Regions from separate parts of the Homo sapiens genome. Here region 2 is linked to region 1. Evidence: promoter capture Hi-C in human tissues and cell types (Jung and others, 2019). All regions are on one chromosome and are shown on one strand. Each heading gives the region's core, a stretch centred on a gene start or on the middle of the fragment in contact. The rest is flanking DNA. Distances are from core to core; before and after follow the strand shown. Region 1 holds the start of FREM2 (FRAS1 related extracellular matrix 2). Region 2 overlaps FREM2 (FRAS1 related extracellular matrix 2).

Region 1 (7,218 bases), core at 3,142-5,641:
CTTCATCCTGGGTAAAATTCATGCCCAGTGTGATATTTTCAAAGGCACCAGTAGGTTTTCGTCTCTGTAATAAGCCATGTCCTGGCCCATAACGAATAATATAAACCAAAGATTTGTCTTCTGAATCTAAATCTGTTGCCATTAATATTTTGTTGTTGATAATCTTGGTATCCCCAATTTCTATTTCTAGTCCATTATTGATAGTCATTCTGGGCGTCTCATCATCAACAGGGATAACTATAATGAGGACCGTCTTTTCCACAGAGTGCTTCCCATCTGTTAGTTTAATCACAAAACTGTCTTCCTGGGTCTCGGAGTCATCATGCTCATAAATAATGCTGGAACTCTCTATGATCTGATCCAAGGTGAAGCTTTCGACCAAAACCGTGCCATTTATCAGCTGATTCATGATGTGACCATGAGTGGGGAATTGGGTAATAGTGAAAGTTAAATCATCCAGGGGAACATCAGCATCAGCAGCATTGAGAATGGGTGTATCAATTACCAGACTCATGCCTTCCATCACCATAAATTCTCTCATAAACATCTCTGGCTGTTCATCATTGGTGGGAATGATTACAATGGGGAAGAACTGTCTCTCTGAAAAGTTAATGCCATCAGAACAACGAAATACAAATCGGTCCTCCACAGGTTCCACCCCTTTATGGACACTCTGGACATAGTTTATGTGGCCCTGCCTGAGATCTTTCAAGTTGAAAGCACTTATGGCAATCCCTGCTCTTGATTTCTCAGAGCCTGGTGCTGGAGAAATGTTTTCAACATAACCTGAAGTAGGCTGAATAACTATAGTGCACAAGATGTCATCATTCAGGGAGTCGACATCTTCAGCACTTATATGCACTGATGTTATAACACTTTTATCACCTTCCATTACTATCAACTGTTCACCTACAAAGATTTCTGGGGCCTGGCTATCAACAGGCAGGATGGTCACCCATATAGTAACTCCTTGGATAGTATTGCCACCAATTCTCCATTCTTGAGACATATCTGACAGACTCAGGTTAAAAGAATCCGCTTTAGGCAATAGGCCTATCTCACCACTGGTGTGGGTATATACAACAGAGCCCTCCAAGATGTCCCTTTGAGTAAACTGCTCTGCTGGAATGCCATTGACCAAGATTTCCCCATACAAAGGTGGATCTTCCAAGAGGAAAGTCAACATCAAGTCATCAGTTTCCTCATTGGTCCCCTTAATAACATTGGCAGTGATTTCAGTAGCCCCATTTTCTAAGACATCTAGATAGGACTCCAGAGTGCCAGTAGGATGGCTCAGTATGGGCACTTCATCATCCACTGGCCGGACATTTACTCTGAGAGTGATGGGCACCACATGATGTCTGTCACTGACTTCCAAGGAGCAGCTATCAGTCAGGGACTTGTCCCCATTATGGGCATAGGAAACTCGGCCCTGTTTTATGTCCTCCAAGTGGAAGAGACCCCCTACATGCAGGATCTGTCCAGACACTCTCATGTGGCCATGTTTGGGTGCCTGAGTGAGAGTGAAAGAGATATGGGCAACATCAGTGTCTACATCATTCACGTGCAACTCTGTCTCACTCAGGATGTGGTGACCCTTCTCCTGAATAGTGAAGCCGGTGTTGAGGATCTCAGGTGGCTGGTTGTCCACGGGATGCAAGTAAAGGGTAAAGGTACCTGGAGCCACATTCCCAGCTCGGTCTTCCACCTGGAACTGGAACTGGGCCACTCGAGTAGCCACGCCCAGTTCTTGACCCGGGGGTCTGTAAGCAATTTTATGATGGTTGATCTGGGCTTGGGTAAAATGGGTCACCACGACTGAGGGGTTGTCAGTCAAGACCAAGGTACCCAGTGGGGCTGGCAGGTGATTTTCGTCTGTGTCTGTGGGGGGCTGAGTCACTGTGTAACGTAGTTCTCGGTCATCTGTGTCCAGGTCAGTGTAGCGCAGCCACTTCTTCCTCAGTGGTGTGAGCTGGGATTCCTGTACCACCATACGAAGGGGACAGCCACTGCCCAGCTCCGGAGGGAGGCGATCCACAGGATGGATACGAATCACAAACCGCTGTAGCCCGGACTGATTAGGAGGGTCATGGTTATCCTGGACTCTAAATGTGAACTGGTCTGTGACTGGCCCAGGACTATGGGGCCCAGAGTGTCTATAGAACAGCCTGCCCTCTGTTATGTCCTGCTGCTGCCACTCTGTCACTGTTCGCTCATAAAATGCCCCCTCCTTCCTCCAAAGGCCTCTGAGAAGTTCCTGCTTCTCATGGGGAGGGTGAGTTTGGCGGAGAAGCAGATGCCCCGTAGTTAAGAAGGGTGACTCCAGCACAAAAAGCAGCAGAGAATCATCTGAATCCATGTCAGTTGCACTCAGGGAAAGGGGCAGGATGGGCACTGTTTCACCCTCTGCCAGTGTCAGCCCCGTGTTGGCATTGAGAACAGGTGGCTGGTCATCCACAGGCACTAAGGTGATGGGGAACAGAAACTGTACCTGGTGCCTGCCTCCTCCATCCACCATGCGAAGCACCAGGTTGTCGCTCAGCGAGCCGTCTCTGTCATCATGCTGGTAGACCACCTGGCCGGCTGCCAGCTCAGCCACTGTAAAGCTCTTGGGAGCAGAGCTGCCACTGGAAGCACCCAGAATGACAAGGTGACCATGCCGGAGCCCAGCCACCACCTCTAGCCGCACTGCTTCTAGGTCATCCTCATCGCTGATGACCAAGTTTTGCGGACCACTGCCTGCAGGGCCTGTGAGGGGCCGAGACTGACCCTCATAGAGAATAAGACCGGTATTCCGGGTGACCACCGGAGCCATTGTGTTCATGGGCTTCACCACTACCATGAAGGCAAAAGGGTCTGAAGCTGCTCCTTCTAGATCCACTACCTCCAATTCCAGTTCAAAGAGGCGCTCCTGGTCAGAGTCTTCAGAAGGGGGCTGGTAGGCAATCTTCAGGAGCCGCAGATCCCTCTGAGTGAAGGAGGAAAGGGGCAGGCTGCGATCATCGGTGCTCACCAAGTAGCCCTGGCCAGGCTGGAATGGAGAAGTAAGGTTGAAGATCAACAGGTCAGAGGGAGACTCAGCATCCTCGGCTGCCAGCATGTCTGGGGTCAGGGCCGTCAGTACAAACTGGTCCACCTCCATCATCATCATGGCCACGAAACTGGGCTTGGGTGCAGTGTTCTCGGCCCCTCCTCGGATCCTCACCAGAACCTGGAAGTGCTCGCGTTTCAAAGCAGGGCTGCCCACAGGAGCCCCTCGTGAACGCAGCTCCACCACCATGGGTATCCAGTCCCTGTTTGGTGAGCGACTGGCGGCTGTGTGGCGATAGCGCACGCCTAGTTCCTGGAAAGCTTTGCAGTCCATCAGGAGAGTCTCCGGGGCGCCTCCCTCTCTGGCTCCTCCAGGGACCTGCGGGTAGTGGAGGAGTTCTCCATAGCGAGGCAGCGCGCCCAAGCCGGACAGGATGCCCACGCGGCACTCCTCTGTCTCGGGCTGGAAGGCGAACTCCAGGCTCCGCGCGTCCAGGGCATTGCTGGTCCCCAGCAGCTCTTCCACGACCAGAGGCAAGTTCCGAGTCACAACCTCCAGCTGGGTGAAGACCACCTCCACCTCCAGTACCAGTGGTAGCACTACTGCCCCTCCGGGCGCGTCATAGCGCAGCTGCAGCCGGACGCGGTCCCGAGACGGGCTGCGCGCGCCCAGGTGAGAGTAGCGCACCTCGCCAGGGCCAAAGTCGCACGGGAAGCGCTTGGGACTCAGGCGGCCCGGTCGCTGGGCCAGTGCGTCGTTGTCTAGTACCGAAACCGCGCAGCGGTCCCCGGGCTGCACCTGCAACACCAGGTCATGCAGGGGATCCAGCCAGACTTCACGGCCGAAAGGCACCCGGAGTCCGCGGTTCGCCAGCACTATGGCCTCCTCAGCAGGGACCCCTGCAGCCCCCGCGAGACCAGGGGACAGCAACGCCCTGCCGAAGGCAGCGGGCTGTGCCGGGACGCGGCTTACCAGTGACAGGAGAAGCAGCAGCAGCAGCAGCAGCCGGGGCGGCGGTGGCGGTCCTGGTTGAAAGCTGGTGGAGTTGCCTGTCCGGCGCGAGGATAACCCGGGAGTCCCGGCTGAGTGCATGGTCCCGGTGTTCGGGCTTGGACAGGTCAGCCTGAGAGCATGCGAAGTCGGTCCCCGGGCAGACAACAAGAGACACCGCCGGGAAGTGCCAGGAACTCCGCGCGTTGCCCGCGGGGTCCTCCTGTAGCCGGGGCTGGGCCAGAAGGATGGCAAAGTTGCGCGGCGCCGTCCGGGCTGGAGCCGCAGCCGAGGAGCCGAAGCCTTCCCAGGCCGTCCAGCTCCGCCGCTAGCGCCTCAATCGCGCGGAGAATTGAATCCCTCCACTTCTACTTTCCAGGTCCCCGGACCCTGGGCTTTGAGGGAAATCCCTCCGCTCGCACCCCTTACTCCAGTCCTCCCAGGTGGCCAATCGTTGGTCGGGGGAGGAGGTGCGGAGCTGAGGGTTGGGTAGTAATTTCTGCCAATCAGCTCTTAGAGGCCAAGGCGGGGAAACTGCGGGGAGGGGAGGAGATAGAGGCGCAACAGGTTGTCCTGGAAGTGAGGGAAGAAGTGGCCAGGAGTTGCCCACCCCTGCTTGCGCTACTCTCTGGGCTGCTATTAATAGATCTGGTACTCCTGCAGAGGAGCCGGAACACACTGCTGTGCTGGGTTCACTTCATCTGCCGGCGACCGAGGGTTACCCATTTTAGCCACCCCCACCCCTCCGCCCTAGTCAATGAAATCCCGCGCAGGGCATGGCCATTTCCCAAGGAAACTTGCAAACCCAGGGGAAAGTTAGACGCAATGCTTTTTGAGTTTGAAGCGAAACCCAGAGCGTTTGAGAAGAAATTCTGGGGCATATTTGCAAAAGGACAGCTGGAATTAAAAGCCATAGCTAGAGCAGGTTGCACTCCAGCCCAGCCCCCTTCGGCGCGCCCAGACGCTGCCTTCTCCTCGTGAATTACAATGGGCACAGTCCTCCGATTGGTGAGTTTTTAACAAGCCCCTCCTTTGCAACCGAGGTTCACAGAGTAAAAGGGAAAAAGGGCATTTGGAATGCGTGAGAAATGCAGTCTGATCAGAATTGCTAGTCTTGCACCAAAGAATAAATTCTAGGGAATGTGGCCCCAGGCGCTCCCAAATCCGACTCTGTTAGGGTAGCTGTCATTAGAGACGTTCCTGTTCTCTTCGCAGTAATTAGACCAAGCACAAACTAAATCTACTTGTCAGCATCACATTTCTTTGCATGCCACGAAAATTGATAAATATCCGGAGGGCACACTAAAATAGTTTAGCTCTCATTTCAGCCAACAGGTTTTGAAGTCAGAGCTTGAGCTCTTCCTGCCCCCTTGTGTTTGTTTGGTTTTAGTAGTGTGTAGATTCCCTTTCTAAAAGGTTTTTTTATCAACTCTCCTCCCCCCCTCAAAAAAGATCCCTTGTAATTTAAACTTAATCATTTTCGGATTGGCTCCTAAGCAATCATAGTCAGAATGTTTTATTTAGGATAATATTTTTTTTCTCCAGTAATGCAAATCTGATTGCTAACAGGAGCATAGAATTGGAGTAATAGTCATAATTAGCCATAATTGCCCTTTTCCTGCTCCAAGGGATTTTGAATTTGGAAAAGAGGGAAATATAAGAAATTGTTAATGTCTTTTTACATTTCAGTCTAAATTGAAGCTAGAAGGTGCCTATGGGAGTAATTTCAGTAAGAAGTGCCTATCCTTTTAAGCCTTTGTGTTTTCAGCTTGAGCTCCTCCAGACCAGGATTTTGATCCTTGCTTGACACAGTTACAGCTATTTTCCAGGCTGCAGCACAAACTCTGTACATAAGTATGGCTGGGAGATGCCAGATTCCTTTCCATGAAACCTACTGAGTGGTGTCCGTTTCCAGGAATCATAGACAGGAAGTTCTAAAATCTTTCAAAAAGAAGCAAGAGATCAATTTAAAGGAGTCACTCATCCAAGCAAGTGTGCAAGCACGCAAACAAGTAACATTTAGTTAATTAAATATTAATTAAGATTATTCTGTGTGCTGTGCATTGTTTGAGGAGCTTTTAACTACAACTTAGAAACTGATGGATACATTTCACAATTTATTACAAAATGGGCATCCAGGAGCATAGAAGGGATGTGGCCCTTACTTTAAATACATTAGAAAATCCCCCATCTAACTCTTTACCAATTTCCTATTTGCTTTGTCATTATTATTTTATAATTTATATGATTATTTATTATCGCATACAGAATTCAAAATGCGGAACATGGGGGGAAATTCTGCTATTTCCTGTTCCAAATTAAAACAAATAAGATGCCAAGTAAACTAGAAAACCAATTTCAGAATATGGCTCTTTTTATAGTAAATTTCAAATTCTGGTTGTGTGTTTGTATTGAAAAATGTCATCTGGAAGCAAAGTGGCCTTATCCAGGCATTGTGACCCTGGGTAAATTCTGAGCAGAACCAGACTAACAGCTTGACCCTTGATGCTTCTTAGTGGCTCCAGGGTTTTCCTTTCCTCCTTTTAAAGTCCAACTCTGTTTGACTTGCAAGCAATGATAAGATCAGCATTTGAAGTATGGTAGTATGCCTCAAGGGCAGAGTTCAATATTTTGTTTCATGGTAAGAAAAATACAGGACCACATTTATTTTTACATAGCCTAAGGAAATCAATAAACTATAATCTTTTTGACTTTTTAATTTTGTCTGCCTTGATCGAAGTGATAGAATGATTTTTAGAGATTATTATTATTTTTTGGTAAATGTCTTAGTTATTTGTCTTGTAAATCAAATAGAAGGTAACTCAAACTATCATTTGGCTAAATATATTTTACATTGATGATCATTGACAAAACAATGAGATGTCAAATTTTTATTTGAGAGCAAATATTATTGATGAAGATCATCTCTGTTTAGGCTCCTAGTTCAGTGTTAAAAGATATGAATGCTAAAATAGCAAGAAAATTATTATTTTACAGTCAGCGTTCTCAATATCACTCAATTTCATGAAGAATAAGTTAGCAAATGTGATTTTTTTTTTTTTTTTTTTTTTACAAAATTCGAGCTTAACACTTCACTTCTTACTTCCTTAAGCCTTATAACGCTTCCTATACATACCATGGGCAAAATATTCCTTAAAATACATTCTTAAATTTGTTTGCTACTTTAAAGTCATACC
Region 2 (7,218 bases), core at 1,320-3,819, 130 kb before region 1:
GAAGGCATTTTTAGTTTTAGCTATATGTTTAAAATTTCAATATAAATTATTATTGTGATTATTTGTCACATACTTTACTGTTTGTCAAATAACAATAGCACTATATTTGACTGGGCAATCTTGTATCTTTCTAGGTCAGTGTAAGGTTCTCTACATAATTTAAGGAAGATTTTAGGCCAATTACAAAAAAAAAATGTATAAGATTTACAACACAGGAATAAATCAGGGAAAAGAAGATCTGATGTCCAGTCAGACAGGATGAAGGCCTATTTCTCAAGGAAAACATAACACCTATCTGTTCCCTCTGAAAGGTAACATTTATCTACAAAGAGAAGGAAGGTTCACAGAGAACATAGGGACACCATAAGGACTCCTAATGAGACAACTACTTCTGGTTTTATAAAGAAGCAAACTAGCAAGTTTCACATCTCTACAGTGACCACTGGTATATCCACCAATGTCAGAAAATAGTACATCTATTACAAAATGTTTTCTTAATATTTCATTCTAATACCATACGTGGAGATGCTGCTGTCTGTTTAGTAATGGAGGTACATGTTTTCAACAGTAGACCATAGGTGCATAGTGCATTTTCTAGACTTAAAATAATCATAGCCCTGCAAGTCCATGGCAGCATTTCACAGATGCTGGCCTCTCTTTACATCACTGAGGCATGCAGGCCAAGACTTTGAAGTGCTCTGTTTTCAGCCAAGTTGCCATGTTTGGCTTTTCAGCATTTTCTGTATGTTTTATGATTTCAATAAAAAGATATGCCAGACCTCTCTGGCCAGCAAATAATTAGGACTTTTTGATCACAACAATAGTATCTAGTAAGAGATCTTTTCCATTTAATCAACTTTTTGTGTATTTTATTGGTTTTTATTATAAAATTCATTTTAATAGTTTTAAATTTACAAATTCTGAAGTCTAGTATCTGAGAAGCTGCTTCTCAGATTTATGTGATTTTTAACACTAAAATGGAATTTTCTGTGACTGAGATCTTGAGGTTCCTATAAATGTTTAGTAAACTGCTTCCAGGGTTTTAGTGGTAATAAATCAGAAATATGTATTCTTTGATGTCTGTAAGATAGTATTGCATGGCCAGCATTCACTTTTCTGTTTGGAAGAGATGGGAATCAGGCAGATAGTGTTACTGGGAAAAAGACAAAACAAACTCAAGACAATATTTATCCACGAGGACTTGACAAGAGAGCCAAAATGCAATCTTTCAGAAAGGCAACCATTTTCACCGGGTCATTTGCTAGATGATGTGGAAAAAGCAGTGCTATTCCTTGTCCAATTGAAGTACCAGATTGAGACTGCACTAATAAGCTTTGCTAAAGATCCAAGGGGAGTTATAATTGATAAAAGATCAACAAGAATAGTTCATTTACAAGTTATTCTATTATCTATGACATTTCAATTATCAATATTCAGGTGCTATATGTCTATAAAAGTATATATAGCTTGTTTCATCTTGTAAACTTCCCTATTAGGATAACTAATAATAACTTTGAGTATTACATTGTAGAATCAGAAGGTCATTGTGTATATTAAATATACTTACTGCTAGTATAATATGAAGTGTGCTGCGTAGTTGTTAATGCCATAGTCTCTTTAGTCAGGCTGGCTAAATGCTTACCGGCTGTTTGACCTTGGGCAAGTTATCCAACCACTCACAGATGATAAAACCCAGGCATAATAAAACTTGGCTCATAATTTGTGTATGTGCATATGTGTATTAAATAATTCAGGTAAAAGATTTAGCACATCTTGGAAGGTGTTCATGATAGCTATGATTATATAAAAATATATGATATCTACAAAGCCCTAAAAAATAAAGACATAAGTTAATTTAATATTGTGAACAGCATGATCCTAATCGGTACCACAACCTTGATATCCTAAAACCACTCTAGCAGACTACATATCTGTAAATTTACACTCCATGAATTTGAGGGCTCATTTCTGGGTGAACCAGCCCTATGTCCTGCCACAGCTCCCTGTGCTCACTTTCTTGTGGGGAGAAAGGTCATTCTTCAGTGTAAATTATACAAAATGGTTAGTTTTTCTCATAAAGAAGTTTGGAGCCTTTGCCTTTTCTGGTAATGGTGGTGAAATGTTTTTATGTGACTAGCAGGAGAAATTCAAGTGGCTGCTTGCCAAGCTTGTGTGTGTGCAGTGGAACAAAGCTCTTTAATGCTTTTCCTGTGGTGAGCAGTGCATTGTATCAACAGTTTCAAAAAGACCAGGCAAGCGCACAGCAGCATAGCAGCCAGGGCCTTTGGAGGTTCTGGCCATAACAGGTTGAGTCAAATGGACTCCTATTGCTAACAAACCCACTACAGCAGTCTCTGATCTTTGCTCATTTGCCTTCTTCTTTGTTTTTAAATTTGTTTTTTAATTGACACTCTGTAATTTCCCATATTTATGAGGTGCAACTTGATGTTTTGATATATTTCTGTATTGTATAATGACACAATAAGGGTAGTTAGTATATCCAGCACATCATGCATTATCTCTTTGTGATGAGAACACTCAAAAGCCTTTCTTCTAGCATTTTTTTTTTGAGACGGAGGCTTGCTCTGTTGCCCAGACTAGAGTGTAGTGGTGCGATCTTGGCTCACTGCAACCTCTGCCCCACTAATTTTTGTATTTTTAGTAAAGACGGGGTTTCACTATGTTGGCCAGGCTGGTCTCAAACTCCTGATCTCAGGTGATCCACCTGCCTCAACCTCCCAAAGTGCTGGGATTACAGGCATGAGCCATCATGTCCAGTCAGCTTTTTTATAATATATAATATTTTATTGTTAACCATAGTCACACTACTGTGCAATAGAACACTGGAATTTATTCCTTCTATGTAATTGTAACATGTACCTATTAATCAACCTTTCTCCATCTACCTCTCCTTTCTCCTTTTCCCAATCTCTGATAACCACAGTTCTATTCTCTGCTTCAATGATATCAACTTTTTTTCCTTTGTAGATTCCACATATGAGTGACATCATGTGGTATTTGTCTTTCTGTGTCTGGCTTATTTCACTTAACATGGTGTCCTCCAGGTTCACCCATGTTGTCTCAAATGATAGGATTTCATTATGTTTTATGACTGTATAGTATTCTGTTGGGTTTTTATACCACATTTTTTCATCTATTCATCCATTGTTGAATACTTAGGTTGAGTCCATATCTTAGCTATTGTAAATAGTGCTGCAATAAACATGGGCATGCAGATACCTCTTCAACATATGGATTTCAAATATTTTCAGTAAATACTCAACTGTGGGATTGCTGAATAATATGGGAATCCTATTTCTAGTTAATTGAGGAACCGCCATACTGTATTCCATAATGGCTGTACTAGCTTACAACCTCACCAACAGTACGTCAGTGTTCCCTTTTCTCCACATTCTCACCAACACTTGTCTTTTTTTATAATAGCCATTCTAACTGAAGTGAGATGGTATCTTATTTTGGTTTTGGTTTGTGTTTCTCTGATGGTTAGCAATGTTGAACATTTTTTATATACCTGTTTGTCATTTGTATGTCTTATTTTGAAAAATGGCCTTTTGCCCATTTTTGATTAATATTGTTATTGTTGTTTTGCTATTATGTCCCTTATATATTCTAGATATTAACCCGTTTTCGCATCTATAGTTTGCAAATATTTTCTCCCATTCTGTAGGTTGTCTCTTCACTCTCTTAACAGTTTCTGTTGCTATGGAAAAGCTTTTTAGTTTGATATAATCCTATATGCCTATTTTTCCTTTTGTTGACTATCCTTTTGAAGTCTTATCTAAAAAGTCCTTGCCCAGCCCAATGCTCTGATGTGTTTCTCCTATGTTTTCTTCTGTTAGCTTCAGATTTTACACTAAGATCCTTAATCCATTTTGAGTTGATTTTTATATATAGTGAGAGGTAGGGATCTAGTTTCATTCTTCTGCACGTAGATAAACTAATTTTCCCAATACCATTTATTGAAAAGATTGTCTTTTCCCCAACATGTATTTTTGGTACATTTGTTGAAAATCAGTTGGTTGTAGGTGTGTAAATTTACTTCTGGGTTCTATATTCTATTCCATTGGTCTATGTGTCTGTTTTTCATGCCAGCACCATGTTGTTCTGTACTTACTATAGCTTTGTAGTATATTTTGAAGTGAGGTAGTATGAAGCTTCCAGCTTTGTTCTTTTTGCACAGGATTGCTTTGGTTGTTTTGGGTCTTTTGTTCTAGATAAATTTTAGAATTGTTTATTTCTATTTTTGTGAAGAATGCCATTGGCATTTTGATAGGAATTGCATTAATCTGTACATCGCTTTGAGTAGTTTGGCCATTTTATGACATTAATTCTTACAATCCACAAATATAGGATATCTTTCCATGTATTTGTATTATTTTACATTTCTTTCATCAAAGTTTTATAGCCTCAGTATAAAGATTTTTCACCTCCTTGACTAAATTTATTACTAGGTATCTTTTTTGTAGCTATTGTAAATGAAACTGTTTTCTTGATTTCTTTTTCAGATAGTTCACTAAGAGCATATAGAAATGCTACTGATTTTTGTATGTTTACTTTGTATACTGCGACTTTACTGAGTTTGTTTATTAGTTCTGTTTTTCAATGGAGTCTTTAAGGTTTTCTATATATAAGATCATGTCATCTGCAAACAGGGCACTTAGCTTCCTCCTTTCAAATTTGAATGCCTTTTATTTCTTTCTCTTGCCTAATTGCTCCGGCTAGGTCTTCATTTACTACATTAAATAGAAATGGTAAAAGCGGGCATCTTTGTCTAGTTCCTGACCTTACAGGAAAAGCTTACAATTTTTCCTCACTCTGTATGATGTTAGCTGTGTGTTTGTCATATATGGCTGTTACTGCATTGAGGTAAGTACCATGTGAATCTAATTTCTTGAGCGTTTTAATCATGATAGTAAATTTTTATCAAATGCTTTTTCTGCCTCTATTGAAATGATATTTTAAAAAATAATTCTTTCCGTTAATGTGCATATCACATTTATTGGTTTGCAAATGTTAAACCATCCATGCATCTCTGGAATAAACTCCACTTGACCACAGTGAATGATTTGTTTAATATGCTGTTGGATTCAGTTTGCTAGCATCTCGTTAAGAATTTTCACATCTATGTTCACTGGAGATCCTAACCTGTAGTTTTTCTTTGTTGTTATGTGATTGTTTGATTTTGAAATCAGGGTAATTCCAGCCTCGTAAGATAACTTTGGAAGTATTCCTTCCTCTTCAATTTTTTGGAATAGTTTGAGAAGAATTGGTATTAGTTCTTTATTAAATGTTTGGTAGAATTCAGCTGGGAATCTGTCCAGTCCTGAGCTCTTCTTTGATGGAGGACTTTTTATTACTGATTCAATGTCCTCAGTCATTACTGACCTGCTCAGATTTTCTATTTCTTCATGGTTCAATCTTGACAGGTTGTATGTGTCCAGGAATTTATCCATTTCTTCTACTGTAGTTTGGATATGGTTTGTTTGTCCCCACCAAATCTCATGTTGAAATTTGGTTTCAATATCAGAGGTGGGGTCTATGGGAAGTGTTTGGGTTATGGGTACAGATCCCTCATAAATAGATTAATGTCCTCCCTTGGTGGATGTAAGTGAGTTCTCATTTTATTAGTTCTCCCCAAAGCTGGTTGTTAAAAAGCTTGGGATCTCTCACTATGGGATCTTGCACCTTCTGGCTCCTCTTTACCTTCTGCCATGAGTGAAAGCAGCCTGAGTCCCTCATCAAAAACTGAACAGGTGCTAGCACCATGCTTTTTTGTACCTGCAGAACTGTGTGCCAAATAGTCCTCGTATCCTTATAAATTACCCAGCCTCGGGTAATCTCAAATGGACTATGTTATCAAATTTGTTGGCATATAGTTGTTTAAAGCAGCCTCTCATCATCCTTTGTATTTCTGTGGTATCAGTTGTAATGTCTCTTGTTTAATATCTAATTTTGTCTTCTTTTATTTCTTAGTCTAGCTAAAGGTTTTTCAAGTTTGTTATTGTTTCAAGAAATTAACTCTTCATTTTGTTGATCTTCTGAATTTTTTTAGCTTCCATTTCTTTTCTATTCTGAGATTTGTTTCTTGCCTTCTACAAGGGAACAAAACATTTCTCTAGTAAGAGAAACCAAAGAAAAAGGCATGTACAAAATGCCTGAAAATTTCAAAACAATGATCTTAAGGAAACAGCCAGATACAAGGAACCCAGTAAAACAACGCAATGAAATAAAAACAATTCATGGGAAGTAGAGCAAGATTGTGGAATAGAAGGCTATACCATTTGTTCCCTCCACCTAGGAACACCAAATTTTAGCAACCATGTGTACACAGAAAAGCACCACCACAAGAGCCAAAAATCAGCACCAGCTCTGCCACAATGGGGTAGAACAACAAGCAGGCCCTTAGGGTCCCTGAGTCAAGGTCTAGATTCTTGCACAGCACTTCAAAACCTTCCCTGGGCCAGAGGGGAGCCCACTGTCCTGAAGGCTGAGTCCTGTGCCTGCCAGCATTCACCACAAGCTAAGAGAAAAGCCCTTGGGCTTTATGCCAACATTGGTGGTGGCCTAGTAGAGCCCCCCATGGATCAGTGGTGGTGGTGGTCCCAGGGAGAGGCTCCTCTGACTGCGAAAAGGGGAGAGAAGAGCAGCAAGCACTTTGCATTGTGGTTTGAATATCAGCTTAACTGCAGTAGAATAGAACATCAGGTAAGTTGCTAAAGTTTTTGATTCTAATCCCTGGCTCCCAGACAGCATCCCTGGACACATTTGGGGCCTGGGGAAACTTGCCATTCTGAAGTGAAGGGCCTTGGGCAAGGCTCAGTACTTTACAGGCTTCAGGTGTGACTCAGCATAGTTCCAACAGTGGTGGCCACAGGTGTGCTTCCTCACCACACCCCAGGTTCCAGGTGGCTCAGCACAGAGACAGAGACGCTATATGTTTGGCAGAAAGAAAGGGAGAAGAACAAGAGCCTCTGCCTTGTAATCCAGAGAACTGCTCTGGATCTCAGCCAAGACCACCAAGGTGCTACCTCTATGAGTCTGCAAAAATCACAGTGTCTTGGGCTTGAGGCCCAAGTGCCTTTGAATACTTGGAAAGTCTTCCAAAGAAGGACAGGCACAAATAAGCCCAGACTGTGAAAACCACAATAAATACCTAACTCTTCAATGCCCAGACACTGACAAGTATCTACAAGCATC

Evidence for each region. Contacts are between HindIII fragments. The study calls those that stand out against the background at their distance.
Region 2: a fragment that was not itself captured here is called in contact with the fragment with the promoter of FREM2 in region 1 in 2 of the 25 tissues and cell types used here (aorta and dorsolateral prefrontal cortex).

The regions. Positions count from the first base shown.
Region 1 is chr13:38,684,250-38,691,467 of GRCh38, reverse strand. It overlaps FREM2 (FRAS1 related extracellular matrix 2), which reads right to left and starts at 4,391. Exons shown (of 24, transcript NM_207361.6): 1 at 1-4,391. The coding sequence starts at 4,123. LINC00437 (long intergenic non-protein coding RNA 437) reads left to right here and starts at 4,793. Exons shown (of 3, transcript NR_126377.1): 1 at 4,793-5,029. The HindIII fragment of the contact is 7,279 bases long and covers 1,862-7,218 here.
Region 2 is chr13:38,814,243-38,821,460 of GRCh38, reverse strand. The region is part of intron 6 of FREM2 (FRAS1 related extracellular matrix 2); the gene reads right to left. Among named protein-coding and RNA genes, the nearest start is that of FREM2-AS1, 9.7 kb to the left of the region's middle. The HindIII fragment of the contact is 3,855 bases long and covers 642-4,496 here.